Linked DNA regions of Homo sapiens: region 2 is linked to region 1. Evidence: promoter capture Hi-C in human tissues and cell types (Jung and others, 2019). All regions are on one chromosome and are shown on one strand. The core of a region is centred on a gene start or on the middle of the fragment in contact, and the rest is flanking DNA. Distances in the headings are between cores, read along the strand shown. Region 1 holds the start of CCR8 (C-C motif chemokine receptor 8). Region 2 overlaps TTC21A (tetratricopeptide repeat domain 21A).

The links. The method cuts DNA at HindIII sites, captures the fragments that hold promoters and counts their contacts. A contact is called where the count stands out against the background at its distance.
Region 2: a contact is called between a fragment that was not itself captured here and the fragment with the promoter of CCR8 in region 1, in 1 of the 25 tissues and cell types used here (H1 embryonic stem cells).

Annotation. Positions count from the first base shown.
Region 1 is chr3:39,324,127-39,331,694 of GRCh38, forward strand. CCR8 (C-C motif chemokine receptor 8) reads left to right here and starts at 5,583. Exons shown (of 2, transcript NM_005201.4): 1 at 5,583-5,703. RefSeq lists enhancers at 3,725-3,814, 4,165-4,254. The HindIII fragment of the contact is 13,900 bases long and covers 1-7,568 here.
Region 2 is chr3:39,117,319-39,124,886 of GRCh38, forward strand. TTC21A (tetratricopeptide repeat domain 21A) reads left to right here. Exons shown (of 29, transcript NM_001366900.1): 7 at 751-835; 8 at 2,604-2,702; 9 at 3,679-3,871. Among named protein-coding and RNA genes, the nearest start is that of TTC21A, 13 kb to the left of the region's middle. RefSeq lists a silencer at 5,633-5,692. The HindIII fragment of the contact is 6,136 bases long and covers 1,778-7,568 here.

The sequences.
Region 1 (7,568 bases), core at 4,333-6,832:
ACTCTTCCACCTCAGCCTCCTGAGCACCTGGGACTACAGGTAAGTGCCACCATGCCCAGCTAATTTTTTGTATTTTTTGTTGAGACAGAGTTTCACCATATTGGCCAGGTTGGTCTCAAACTCCTGGGCTTAAGCAATCCTCCCACCTTGGCCTCCCAAAGTGCTGGAATTACAGGTGTGAGCCACTGCGCCCAACCCTCATGAAAGCTTTATTCCCATTTTACACACGAAGATCCTAATGCCTTGTCAAAATGTGACCAGCCACACTAACATCACCTGGGAGCTTGTTAGACGTGCAGAATCTCAAGGCTCAGAACTGCTAAGTCATAATCTGCTGCTTAACAGGAGTCCCAGGTGATTTGGGTACACATTAAAGTAGCACTGGACTAAAACTCAGAAAGGTTTAGTGGCTTTCCCAGGTTTCCAGAGCAATGTGGTAGCCCAGTTGGGACAAGGCTCTGGAGACTCCAAGAAATGCTTTTCTTAATGCTTCACTCCCGGCTGGAAGGCACACCCATTCTTTAAGGCCAGCTCCCTGATCTCCTCCACATTCTTACCCTGAAGACCCAGGAAGAATCAAGAGTCCCTTTTGCTCCTGAAGCCCTTCATGTATTCCTCTGTCACAGTAATGAATGCATTTGGCCTTGTAACAAGATGGAGAAGAAAAGAGGGAATAAAACAGTATTTCACAAACCCCTCTTCTATGCAGAGGAACAGGGTAAATATTATCAGGAGTGAAGAAGAGAAGTATCTTGACATTCTACGTTTACCCTTAACTTGTGAGCATTTTTCCTGGGCAGAGGCGAACTCTTCCTAGTTTCCCCTTAAGAGTTTTTCATGTGGCCCAGGTACTGAACATAAGATAGACTTGGAGAGGCCATTGGTTCTGGAGGACTCACACTACTTTGGCCTCATATTTTTTTTTTCTCCCCAACTTCATAATGATAAACTCAGGCTTCCTTTGTGTACCACTTTTGGCAATGCAGGTGCTTTTTGCAAGTCAATGGGAGAGAATTACAAGTGTGGCTTATTAAATTGATCTCCAATTTAATCAATAAATCATTCACAACATGAAAATGTGTTTGCTTTGAATTAGTGCTTGATAGCAATTTTCTATTTCCTAAAAACTTGTAATTGAAATGACAGCGTGCCTTTATTAAAGAGAATTTTAAGAATAAAAAGAAATAACCTAATATAAGATTGTTTTAATTTCTGCCTATTTCATTCTGGATGTACCCACACTCATCCATGCTTCGCAAAGAGACAGTCATAGTATACATGCCACCTTAATCATAAAGATTTCTCTGGGTTTCTACATGGTTTTCACAGTGATACTTTTTCCTTTCATTATTCATCATTCTTCAGAGAACCATCACCTCCTGGGACTCCTGTGATGAAAGTGCCATGATTGCTAAGCTCCTTAAGTGAGGAAATCATAAATTTCATTTTTTTATCCCTTCTAATGGCAAAAGCAGTTCTGAGAATATGCTAGGCACTTCAGTGCTTGTAGCCTTGGAAAAAGGTGGTGAGCATGTTTGTAGAAGATAAATTCTGGGAATAAAGCACCACCAAAAGGCTAAGAGATTTAGCCGGGCATGGTGGCATGCACCTGTAGTCCCAGCCAATCTGGAGGCTGAGGCAGGAGAGTCTCTTGAACCTGGGAGGTGGAGGCTGCAGTGAGTTGAGATCATGCTGCTACAGTCCAGCCTGGGCCACAGAGGAAGACTCTGTCTCAAAAAAAAAAAAAAAAAGAAAGGCCGGGCACAGTGGTTCATGCCTGTAATCCCAGCACTTTGGGAGGCTGAGGCGGGTGGATCACCTGAGGTCATGAGTTAGAGACCAGCCTGGCCAACATGGTAAAACCCCGTTTCTACTAAAAATACCAAAAATTAGCCAGGTGTAGTGGCGGGCGCCTATAATCCCAGCTACTAGGGAGGCTGAGACAGGAGAATCACTTGAACCCAGGAGGCAGAGGTTGCAGTGAGCTAAGATTGCACCATTGTACTCCAGCCTGGGCAACAAGAGCAAAACTCCGTCTCAAACAAAACAAAACAAACCACTAAGAGATCTAATCAATTATTCTGGCACACAAGGTAATATGAATTTCCTGAAAATGCAACTAAAAATACGTTATTAACCACATTTCTCCATATTCAACCCTTCAAATCAAAATTATGATGATACCTTTTTTTGTATTCTGACAATTGTCATGATTACTCTTATGAAGGAAATAAATAGTAGTAAAAAAGAAAATCTGTTTCTTGTTACTCTTTTTTGTAATCCATATGGGAAATTAAATTATATAGACAGCAAAACTGGCTTTACTATTAATAACACACGAGCTTTTCTTAAACTCTGGCTTTGTCTAACACTTTTCGTTAAGCAAATGCATTTTTACCCTACAAATCACTGAGGGACTGACATATAGTTGAAAACTATAGAAAATACAGAAAGACTTCCTCTAGTCTTATCCACAACTCTTCATAATGTTATTGCACGAGAATTTTGAATGTGGTGCAGTAAGAAAAGCACCCTCAGCTGTGCCTCGGAAGACCTGAGTTCTGGCTCTGGCTCTACCACCAAATTACTGTGTGATTTTGGGTGAGCCACTTTGCCTCTCTGGACTTAAATATTACTACTTTGAAAGAAAGAGAGGGAGAGAGACATCAGCTGTATGACCTGAGGCCATTTTCTGCCCTAATACTCTATGACAAATATCTGTGATAGTAGTAATTTCTACATTTACACTTAGGGTTTATTTAAATACAGTTTTTTCTTTCTCTTTATTTTGGAGGAAAGGAGGTCAAATATGCTGCTAGTCTCTTTTTCCCTCTGAAGTGAAATACAGTCTTTTGAACCTTTGGAGGGACCCAGTAGAATTGAATTTAGATGGGATGTCCCCAATGGATCTGATCCAGCATTTTCAGAACCCATTGAATGTGCAGCAGAAGGTAGACTTGGAGAGGCCATTGGCTCTGGAGGGGTCACACTACTTTGGTTTTGTAGTTTGGTTTCTGCTGCCTTCCCATAGAATGCCTGAATCCCTGATGTAGGCCCAAAGGTGAGGAACCAAGGCTTGTCAGTTAACTATGTCACAGTTTGTCTGTCTTCCGAGTCAGGATGTTGTGGGTTGAATAATGGTCAACCAAAGAGATGAAGTCTTAATTCCTAGAACTTGTAAATGTTACTTTACTTGGGAGAAGAGCTTCTGCAGATGTGATTAAGTCAAGGATTTTGAGATGGGGAGATTATCATGGATTACCTGGACGGATCCTAAATCCAATCATGAGTGTTCTCATAAATCAGAGGTGGGTGAGATCTGATGCAGACACACAGTGGAGAAGGAGATGTGAAGATGGTGGAGATTAAAGTGATGTGGCCACAAGCCCCAGGTTTGCTGGGGCAGCCACCAAGAGCCAGAAGTGGCAAGGAACAATTCGCCCTTCAAGCACCCAGAAGGAGGCAGCCCTGCTGGATTATAGCCATCTGGCCTCCAGAACTGGGGGAGAATACACGTCTGCTGCTCTAAGCCACTAAGTTGGTGGTAATTTGTTACAGCAGCCACAGGAAACAAATACACAGGTGACAGCAGGCAAGTGTCCAGTCCTGCAGGGGCCCACACCAGCCCTCAGATCTGGCTCAGGAAACACAAAAAGAGGAGCATCCTTCCATTCTGGCTGTTCAGTCCTTTCCTCCAACTCTTCACCAGACTCCACATCTCCACCTTGCCTCATTCTCTCTGTTCAACTATTTATTAAGAAGTTGCTGTGCACTAAGCACTGTGCCAAGTATGGAGGAGCAGCTGATAAAAGAATCCTCAGGAACTGAAGATAGAGACTGTTTGGGGTTTAGATCAGCTTGCACTAGAAACTGGGCTTGGGGGGAATTCCACCTTAGTCCCTCAGGCCTTGCTTAACTGGGCTTTGGAGGGGAAGGTGGCTTCCCCCACACCTGCCCTCACTGATGAGGCGGTCCCATAGTTCCCACCATCATGACATGGACTAGTAATACCTGAGGGCCCTGAGTTCTCCATCGGCTCACCATTGATCTTTGCTTATCACATACAAAACTCTCATAAAGGAACTGGGTTTTCCCCAAACTGCGTCAAAACATGAATGATGGTGAGGGGAATTTGCCGAGGTATGAATTCAGGTACCAGCAGATATTTCCTTTTATTTTTTCTTTAGAGACAGGTCAGTGGCTCAATCATAGCTCACCTCAAACTGCTGGACTCAAGTGATCCTCCCACTTTAGCTTCCCAAGTAGCTGGGACTACAAGTGCATGCCACCATGCCTGGCTAATTTTATTTAAAAAATTTGTACAGATGATGCATTAGTCCGTTGTCACACTGCTATAAAGAAAGACCAAGATTGGATAATTTATAAAGGAAAGAGGTTAAATTGACTCACAGTTCTGCATTGCTGGGGAGGCCTCAAGAAACTTATAATCATGGTGGAAGGCAAAGGAGAAGCAGGCACATTTTTCACAGGTCGGCAGGATGGAGTGAGTGCAAGCAGGGAAAATGCCAGGTGTTTATAAAACCATCAGATCAGATCTCTTGAGACTCACTCACTATCATGAGAACAGCATGGGGGAAACTGCCCCCATGATCCAATTAACTCCACCTGGTCCCGCCCTTGACACATGGGGATTATGAGGATTATAATTCAAGATGAGATTTGGGTAGGGACACAGAGCCAAACCGTATGAGATGGGGTCTTGCTATGTTGACCAGTCTGGTCTTGAACTCCTAGGCTCAAGCAATCCTCCTGCCTCAGCCTCCCAAAATGCTGGAATTACAGATGTGAGCCACCGTACCTGGCATCCAGCAGATATTTCTACTGCATTTCTCCAGGAATGAGTGGGTTGGAGATGAGGAGATTCTGGAACTTCTGTCATTTCCTCCCAACAATTCTGGGACTCATGTTCACTCTCCTGGGATAGGGGAAACTGACTTAAAGTGATTTTCAAATGGCATTCCTGTTGAAAGAGTTAATATATGTACATGCATACAACATACACACACATTTGTGTATGCTACATACCATGGAGGAAAGCCAGTCCTGGTATAAATTGTATAACTTCAAAATAATAATGGAATTATGATTTCATTTTAATACTGATTTCAATTAAAAATTTTAATAGACTATTTTTTAGAGGTTTTAAGTTTACAGAAAATCTAGGTAGACAACACAGAAAATTCCCATTAACCCCTGTATTAGTCTGCTAGGACTTCCATAACAAAATACTACAGGCTGAGTAGCTTAAACAACAGAAATTTGTTTTCCCACAGTTCTGGAGGCTAGAAGACCAAGGTGCCCACAAGTCTGGTTTCTGGTGATGCCTATTTACCTTACTTGCAGATGGCTGCCTTCTCCCTGTGTCCTCACATGGCCTTTCCTCTGAGCACCTGGAGGCAAGAGAGTGAGCTCTGGTGTGTATTCCTCTACCTAGGAGACACCAGTCCTATTGAATTAGGGCCTCAGCCTTACGATCTCATTTAACCCTCATTGCCTCCCTTTAGGTGACTAGGTGTGAGGGTGGAGCCCTCAAGAGACTGCCTTCTCTCCATCTGCTGTTTGTAGTGGGAGGATACCTCCAGAGAGGCTGCTGCTCATTGAGCTGCACTCACATGAGGATACAGACTTTGTGAAGAAGGAATTGGCAACACTGAAACCTCCAGAACAAAGGCTGTCACTAAGGTATGTGCTACAAGCATCCTTGGGGAAGAAGGGCATGAGTAGGCAGGGGCATTTTTATATCTTTAGAGGATAGGCAAAGGGAAGACCAAAATTTCAGAGGTCTAGCACAAGAAGTAAAATTTTTTTTTAAATCTTTGCATTTCCTCAGAGCCCACAAACATGCATGTGTCTTAGTGGCTGCCCATGCTCTGGCTGAGGAGAGCAAACCGTGCCATATTCTCTGCAGGCCTTTAGGAGAGAGTGAAAACTCCTACAAGAGTGGGAAGGTAGATAAGAGAAGATCCTTTATAATACCAGGCATCTGGGAAGATCTGTCCTTGTGCTGGGTACAGGGCTTCTATCAGGTAACTGAAGGACACCTGGGTGCTGTTCTTAAGGAAAGAAGCCAGCGAGCAAACTTTCATATGACTAAAGAAGTTGCTGGTGGGTGCCTGTAGTCCCAGCTACTCAAGAGCCTGGGGCAGAAGGATTGCTTGCGCCCAGAAGTCAGGGCTTTGTGTGAGATCACACCTGCGTATAACTACTGTACTCCAGCTTGGGCAACATAGTGAGACCCTGTCTCTAAAAAAATAAATAAATTGCTTGCTTGCTTGCTTGTGCTTTCAAATCATAGAAAAGTAGCAGAGTGGAGAGGGGTGTCTGAATGTAAAGCAAACAAATGCCTTGGAAAAATATGTCTGGATTGAAATTGCATTGAATGTATATATCAATTTGAGAAGAATTGTCAAGTTTTATAATTTTTATGTAACTGAATTGCATTTTTATTAGTTTTATTCCTAGTAATGCTAGTAATTTTCATTGCTAGTATAATTGGGATCATTTTTCTATTGCATTTATAAAGTTATTTTTTTTCTGGTGCTTAGGAAAGCAATTAAAAGAATAAACTGATGAATATCATGCAGATATATCTCTAAAACAATAAGCAAAATACAAAGGGAAAAACAATATATCATTTATGTAAGTTAAAACAATATATCATTTATGTAAGTTAAAACACACAAAAATATATATTGTTTATGGATATATATAAATATGTAAAAGTACAGGGGGAAATTGTTTGGAATGATACATACCAAATTGGTTTTAGTTGTTGTTTCTGTTATGGGGATAAGTTGTGTAGTTAAAGGGAACATTAGCTTCATCTCTATTGCATCAGAAATAAAAAAAGAAAGAGGGATGGAAGGAAGAGAGGGAATGAGGGAGGGAGAAAAGAAGGGAGAAAAAAAGAAGGAAGGAAGGAAAAAAAAATAACCCAAAGCATTGTGAGAATATGTTAGCAGCTGCTAATTCTAGGTGATGGAACTATGGGTATTTACATTTTCTTTGTAAGTTTTGGCTTTTCTCATCTCAGCTGACTCCCTTTGGTTTACATAACAAAATACAATAGACTGAGTGGCTTAAACAACAGAAAGTGTTGTTTAACATACTTCTAAAGGCTGGAAGTCCAAGACCAAGCTGCCAATGCAGTTGATTTCTGGTGAGGCTTCTCTACCTGGCTTGCTGATTTCAGCCTTCTTGCTGTGTCCTCACATGGTCTTTACTCCATGCACAAGGGGAGCAAAATTTCTTGTGTCTCTTTCTCTTCTGTTAAGGACACTAGTTCTATCAGATTAGGGCCCTGCCTTTTTTGGTTTTGTTTCTGTTTTCTTTTTTTTGAGACAGAGTCTCACTCTGTCACCCAGGCTGGAGTACAGTGGCTTGATCTCGAGTCATTGCAACCCCTGCTTCCTGGGTTCAAGAAATTGTCGTGCCTCAGCCTCCCGAGGTAGCTTGGATTACAGGCATGTGGCACCATGCCTGGCTAATTTTTGTAATTTTAGTAGAGACGGGGTTTTGCACTGTTGGCCAGGCTTGTCTCGAACTCC
Region 2 (7,568 bases), core at 3,596-6,095, 210 kb before region 1:
CGGAATTTAGTATGTGAATTAGACTAACCTGCTATTAAGCAGAAAGTCATTCCCTGATAGGCTGAAAAATGGGAAAGAATCTTTCTATAAAGAAATAGAATATTGAAAACCTCATAGTATGGTCAGAAGCTATAGCTTCACAATAGTACAAAATTGAAACCCAGGTTCCTTTTCCATCTTACAGTGACTGCCCCCCAAGTGCCTTTCTGGCCACCTCCAGTCTCTGGCACCATGGTCATGTCTGGTTAGTTGGGTTATGAATAAGTTTCTGTGGCAAAGATACCCTCAGATACACAACTTAAATAACATAAAAGGTTATTCCTCCTCCAGGCAAAGTTGGTGGTGGCTCAGGGCTGGGATGACAGCTTAACTCTGGGGAGTCCCAGGCCCCTCTGTCTTGTTGCTCTGCTATTCCTAGGATAATGCTCACATGGTCCACATTCCATACAGTAGGCAGGAGGAAAGGGGGGAAAGGGAAGGCATGCTGGTAGGGCACAACTGGACAGCACACCCCTCATTTGTACTTCTATCCTGTAGGTCAGACCTTTGTCACATGGCCAAATGTAAGCTGCAAAGAGAGGCTGGGAAATGTCTTTATTCTGAGCAGCTTGTGCCTGGCTAATTTGGGAGTTCTATTATTAAAAGAAGAGGGGAGAATGGATATTCAAAGACAATCAGAAGTCGCCAACACACCATCCCAGCTTTGCCTATCAATACTCTCAATTCATGTGCCTCCTCTTCTTCCTTCAGAATCCTAGAAAAAGATGAGAGCAATATTGATGCCTGCCAAATTCTAACCGTGCATGAGCTTGCAAGAGAAGGAAACATGACCACAGTAAGTTCTTTGAAGACTCAGAAGGTGATCCTTGAAACAGAATCAAGGAGGAACCCTTCATGACCTGTGCACCTGACCCAAAGCCCTTGTAGGGAGCTCCTGGATCTCAGCTTCCTCTTTTCTACCCCACCCCTATACTCGCTGCCAAGGAGGCCTGCTCTGGTTTGACTCTTTGAGTTGTGTAGCTTGGGAGTCAGGCAGCATCAGGCAGTGAGATTGATTCTAGGCTCTGCCATGTGCTATCTGTGGAAGCCTGGGCAGGTGTCCCCACCTGGATAAGCCGCAGGCTTCCTGTTTGTAAAATAGACAGAATTCCACACAGGACTAAATGTGATAAGAAGTGGGAGAGTTTGGAACAGTCCCTGGCACACTACAGTAATTCCATCAATGTTAACTGATAGTAGAAGTCGTGGTAGTATTTCTGAATTCAGGAAATGCCTTTTTTTTAGGGGATAGTTGGAACTGCTCAGGCATTGGCCAGGTAATACTGGGCCCCAAACATGCTCGTAAGTCTTGTAGTTTTCCAAAGAAACCAAAAATAGCCCTCAAATGCAGTCAGAAACACCTAGAATTCTTAGTGAAACCTCAATACCCAGACAGGTTCTCATTTTCAGAAAGGTTTGTTTTTAGCCAAAGCATTGCCTTTTAGATCAGTGAAATATATTGCCTCTATGGAGAGCATGGCAAACCAGGAGTCTCTAAGGGGTCATGGTGGGAAGGGGAAGCTTCTGGTTTCTTCTGCACAGCTCTGAGATTGTGGATTTTGTGGGATGGGGTGAGGTAGAGGGGAGAGTCCGTATTTGGGAGAAAAAGGCCCCAGCCCTTTTCGTCTCTGGGTAGGAATAAGAGAATAGGACTATCCTCAGCTCCCTGTGACTCCAGATCCCTAAGCAGGCCTTCCTGGGGCCTGGCCTGAAAGTTAATCCCAGGGGCAGACTTAGCATTTAGCTAACTGAGATTTAGCATTAGCCCCTTTTTTACTCCCACTTCAAACCTTGGGACCTCCCCACCGACCCCGGGCTGGCTACCCAGTTCTAATTTTGTTCATACTTACTGAACAGAGTGGACCCATACCATCCTTGGTTTTGCTTTTGGCACTTCTCTGCAGCTGGGAACTAAGAATTCCTTACTCCTGGGTGGGGAGTGGGAAAGAACCTAAGCTTTGGAATCTGTCAGTGACCTAGGTGGCTGGGTGACCTCAGACCAATTGCCTAACCTTTCTAACCTTTCATGTGTTGGACAGGAAGGTTTGGAAAGTTCGAATAGTTATACTGACTTACATTTGATTCATGTCAAAATGGAGCAGAGGCTTCTGGGCCAGCACTAGTTAGTTTGCTGCTGGCCTGGCAGGCTGCACTGTGGACACAGTGAGGGCTAGCTCCTGGCTCTGCCTGGGTGGGTCTGAAAAGGCAACTTCTCTTCACAAACTCAGGAACAGGGCTACTCTATGGGTTAGCCCTGCTCCATAAGGAGCAGTCAAAAAAAAAAAAGAAAAAAAAGAAAAAAAAAAAACAAATTCAAGAACAGAGGGGCAGTGCCAGCTCTGGGTGAATAATGTCCCCAGGAGTTCCACTTATAGGCCTTTGAAGTAATTCTGATGCCTGGACCACTCCAATTCACTTAAATCTGAATTTCTGGGGGGTTGTGCCTGGGCATGGGCATTTTTTAAATCTCCCAGCTGATGCTACTATGCAGTCAGGGTTGAGAACCACGGCGCAACTCTGACCTTGCACCTTGCATGTTGACATTCTCTGTTTTGTCCCTGCAGGCTACCAATCACGTTAGAAATCTGATTAAGGCACTAGAGACAAGGGAACCCGAAAATCCAAGCCTCCATCTTAAAAAAATTATTGTGGTTAGCCGACTGGTAAGAAGGTTCTTTCCTGGTTCTGAAATGGTGCTTCTCCCTGCTTTCCTTAGAGGAGAACTGTGCTCCCCCAGGAAGCTCCTTGAGTGCCTTACCCCTCCCTTCTGGCTCAAACTTGTCCTTTAGGGTAGTGGCTCATATCCTGCTGTGCCTACTTGCCTCTGGCTGATAACTGTGACATGTGGGTTCTACATCCTTAGCCTAGGTGCCCCCTCAGAGATGCCATGAAGATCAGGGAGACGGGGTCTGAAAGTGCTTTTGGAGTGGGCTGTGCCTTATTTGGGGAAAGCGGGTGGTATTGCAGCTGTTATGCAGCAGAGCCACACCCAGCTCTAGCCTCTAGTGCCTGGGTGCCCATCTCCCATATTCTTTTTTGTGGAGGTGACCTGAGAAGGCTGGCCTGCCTAGGCCTCTCAAACATCAGGGAAGGTTCAACTAGACCAGGTTGCCAACAAATCTGTATCTCTTTCAGACCCTTCAGCCCCAAAGCAAGATTTACTAGAAGTAGTTGCTGTAAGAATGAAGGCAACTCTGGGACCCCAGGAACCAGAACTGTGGAGTTGCATAGGCACCATCTCTCCCTCTGTATGTCTGATTCTCTCTGCCTTGTTCTCCACACATGGCAGGGAACATGGCTGATGGCAGCCTTTGGGGCCACTTCTTATTACTGGACACATTCAGCTTCAATTTTTGAAAAACCTCTTGGTGACTCCTTAGACCAATTACTGTGACCAGACAGGGGATAGGTCCCTCAGAGGACCCTGTGGCTAGAGGCAGGTTCCACAGTTGTGGCCAGTGAGAGGTTCCTTGGGAGCCAGACAGCAACACAGACCCAGCTGCCTAGACACACGGTACCTCTTGGCTCTCCTGGGCCTACCAGCCCTGCCTACCAAAGTGTCCCCCGTTTCTGACATGACCTTGCTCATACAGGCTGGACTGACTGGTTTCCCAATTCCCACCTTCCTGTTTCTTGCAGTGTGGGAGTCACCAGGTGATTCTAGGGCTAGTGTGTAGTTTCATCGAGCGCACCTTCATGGCCACCCCCTCGTATGTCCATGTGGCCACAGAACTGGGCTATCTCTTCATCCTGAAGAACCAAGTGAAAGAGGCCTTGCTGTGGTATTCAGAAGCCATGAAACTGGACAAGGATGGCATGGCTGGTTTGACAGGTATATGCAGGTGTGGCAGGGCTCAGGGATGGGTGTCGGGAGCCAAACCGGGCAGCTTCCATGGGTCCAGAAGAGAGGTGCTGGAAAGCATTCTCCTTGAAGGGTATGTGAATTTTGGGGTACAATGTATGATGGGGTATCTTTCTGGGAATCCACAAGTATAGATGTAAGAGGCACAGCAATGCTCAGAGGTATGATCAGAGTCACTCTGATCTCCACCAGACCTCCAATGTCTGTCTACACTGACTGCCCCAGAAGACTGACAGGCTGAACCTTATACTCAGTGGGCCCTGCCTCTTCTCAGGCTGCCCAGGCCGGGGTTGGAGGCAGTTCTACTCACCACCAGTCCCCACATGCAGAGCCTCTAGATTCACCTCTGTAGACCCTCCTTCAGGGCTCTGAGCTGAAAAACCACCAAAAAGAGTAGCTCTGAGAATTATATATTTCCCTGTCTGTCCAGGTGACTTTAAAAATCTTTTCTATAAATGCCAAATGAACTTTCTACAGTGCCATTTCCATTTTACGCATTTTTTAAAGCCCCCTATTCCATGGTCTGTGGTGAACTCTGAAGTGGCAGTATTTGGTTTGGGTTGAGGAAGTTGTGTGGTCCAGTGCTCAAGGCAGGCCGACTCTTGCCCTGGCTCTGAGGGGCTATGTGTTTGGGGCCAAGTCACTTCTCCTTTCTAAACTCCAGGCTCCTCATCTGCATAGCACATTTATCAGAGTAGTTTATCTTGACTTCTGGTTCAACATGTCAGGCTGACCCCCTCAAATCCATGCTTTCCCTCTGTCCCCAAATCCCATGAAAATAATGAAAGATATCTTTAAAAGGTAATGAGCCAGGCGTGATGGCTCACGCCTGTAATCCCAATACTTTGGGAGGCTGAGGTGGGCAGGTCATTTGAGGTCAGGAATTCGAGACCAGCCTGGCCAACATGATGAAACCCCATCTCTACTAAAAACACACAAAAATTAGCCAGGTGTGGTGGAGGACACCTGTAATCCCAGCTATTTGGGACGCTGAGGCCGGAGAATCACTTGAACCCGGGAGATGGAGGTTGATATGAGCCGAGATGACACCACTGCACTGCAGCCTGGGCCACAGAGTGAGACTCCACCTCAAAAAAAGAAAGAAAAAAAAAAAAAAGAGTACATAGCAGCGTGGACCAGAAACTTTGAAGAATTTCACATTTCTAGAAGATGGAAGGCAAATGGTGTCAAATACATGGGAATTCGAAGCAGATCTAGAAACCCATAAGCAAACATAGGCAGAGATGGGTTAGCTAAAGAATTTAGTAGACCAGCTTTCCCCAAAGAGTTCCAGGAAAAACAAAAACTAAAAAAGACGAGCTCAGGGTCACCAGAGGCTGAGTGTGAAAGCATGCCACGGGGCAGTGAGAGCGATAATAGGAGGATTACTGGAATCATGCCTTGGCCAGAGGCTAGAATCCAGGAGGTGTGTATTGGGTGTTGGGGCAGGAGGGAGAGGAGCACTGCTCTGGATGATTTCCCACCATAACCAGGGACATGAAGGACAAAAGGACTTGGCTGCTCAGCACAAAAGCAAAATTCCCTAGAATGTTCTTCCACCAGGTTGAGTCCTTCCCTACTTCCTCCTTCAAGGGGCAGAGTCCCAGTGGTTAGCCAGAGGAAAGTCCACTGGTCAGGATGTCTGTCCCACTCTCCCAGTCCAAGCTGAGCCCACCTGTATGTCCTGGAGTCACCATATTTTCTGCCCAGTCTGACAAAATCAGTGACCTTAACAGTGTGTAAAATGTGCCTAGTTGCTGCCCTTCCTTTATAAATCTGCTAGCAGTCTGAAAGGTTGGCCGAGTGGAACATGCAAAGCAGTAGCCCTCTGAGGAGCAGAGTTAAGGCTAGTACAGAAAAGACTTTTCCTCCCAAAACACCTTCAGTGTTTGGAGAGGCTATTATGTCAATAAGTAAAGAACATGCTACTGTGAAAAAGGTACAGGAACAAAAAAGAGTTGCCAAAAATAAAAAATATTATTGTAAGGTAAAAAATTTCATAAATGGGCCTAATAGTGGGATGGATATAACTGAAAACTAAGATGGTGATGAGGAAGACAGTCAAGAATAAATATACCAAAGTAGCAAAGAAATACCTGTGCAAGTAGAATAGCTTGCTTCAAACAGATGAGATTTGTCCTCCCAACATCAAAACATATCACAAAACTACAGTAATTAAGTCCCTTTGAGGCCAGCACTGACTGGGATAAGCAAATAGATAAATGGGATGTAACAGGCCTTATTTCAAACTAATAGGTTGTTCACCAACTCCTAGTTGGATACCCTGCTATCCATTATGAAAAAGAAAAAAAGGTAAGTTCTCATCTTACACCATACTTAAATTTCAGATGAATTAAGTATTAAACATAAAAATTAAATGAAACATGGGTTTCCCTGGGGATTCTAAGCCTAACTCCAAACTTGGAAGCTGCAAAGTTTGGCTTTGTGGCTCTACATGGAAAAAAAAAATAGAAGCTGCAAAGGAGAATATTTTACCTATTTGACTACATAAAAGCTTAAAATTACTACATGACAAGGTACTGTAAAAATAGTTAAAGGATAAATGGCAAACTAATAGAAAACACTTGCAACAAAGGGTTAATAAAACATAAAGAGAAAAAAAATCACCCCCCCCAAAAAAACCAGGCAGGCTGTGAACAGAATATTCACAGTAGAAAGGAAAAGGCTATATTGGAAATATGAACAGGTGTTCATTCTCCCTAATAGTTAAAAAAGGTGTTAAATGAAAACTAGTTACTTTTCATGTTTCAGACTGGCAAAAATTACAGCACGTTTGAGGTTATGAAGAAAGGATATTTTAAATTCTTGATAGTAATATAAGTTCAAGTATCTTTGAGGGCAAGTTGACCTTATCTATCAGTATTTTAAATATATGTGCTCTATGACCCATCAGCTCTCCCTCAGGAATTTGAACTTATGTAAATGTTCATCATAGCATTGTAGTATTTAAATACCAAAAATAAAGTAAATGTGAAATTAGATGTCCTTCAGTAGGGCAATAGTTAAATAATTAGTAGGGCAATAAATTGTTACATCCACAGTAAAACATTGTGTTGTCATCAAAGAAAATGGGGTAGATTTGTATGAAGAGATGGGAAAATATGACTATCATATACAAATTTTAAAAAGCAGATTGTGGCCAGGCGCAGTGGCTCATGCCTGTAATCCTAGCACTTTGGGAGGCTAAGGTGAGTGGATCACCTGAGGTCAGGAGTTAGAGACCAGCCTGGCCAACATGGCAAAACCCCGTTTCTACTAAAAATACAAAAATTAGCCGGGCGTGGTGGCCATGCCTGTAATCCCAGCTACTCAGGAGGCTGAGGCAGGAGAATTGCTTGAACCTGAGGGGCGGAGGTTGCAGTGAGCCAAGATCGTGCCACTTCACTCCAGCCTGGGCAAAAGAGCGAAACTCCGTCTCAAAAAAAAAAAAAAAGCAGATTGTAGAATGGTGTATGTGAAATTTGATTCCCTTTGTGTATGTGTGTGTTTTTAAACCCATTGGTATGCTCATGTGTACATATATATGTCTGAGGTGTCTATATAGTAGTAACGTATTATACCTCAAATTGTTCCTAGTGGTTATCTCTAGAGAGAGACATTGTTACAGCCAGAACATGAGCTAGGGATGTTTTTCTGTATTGCCTTA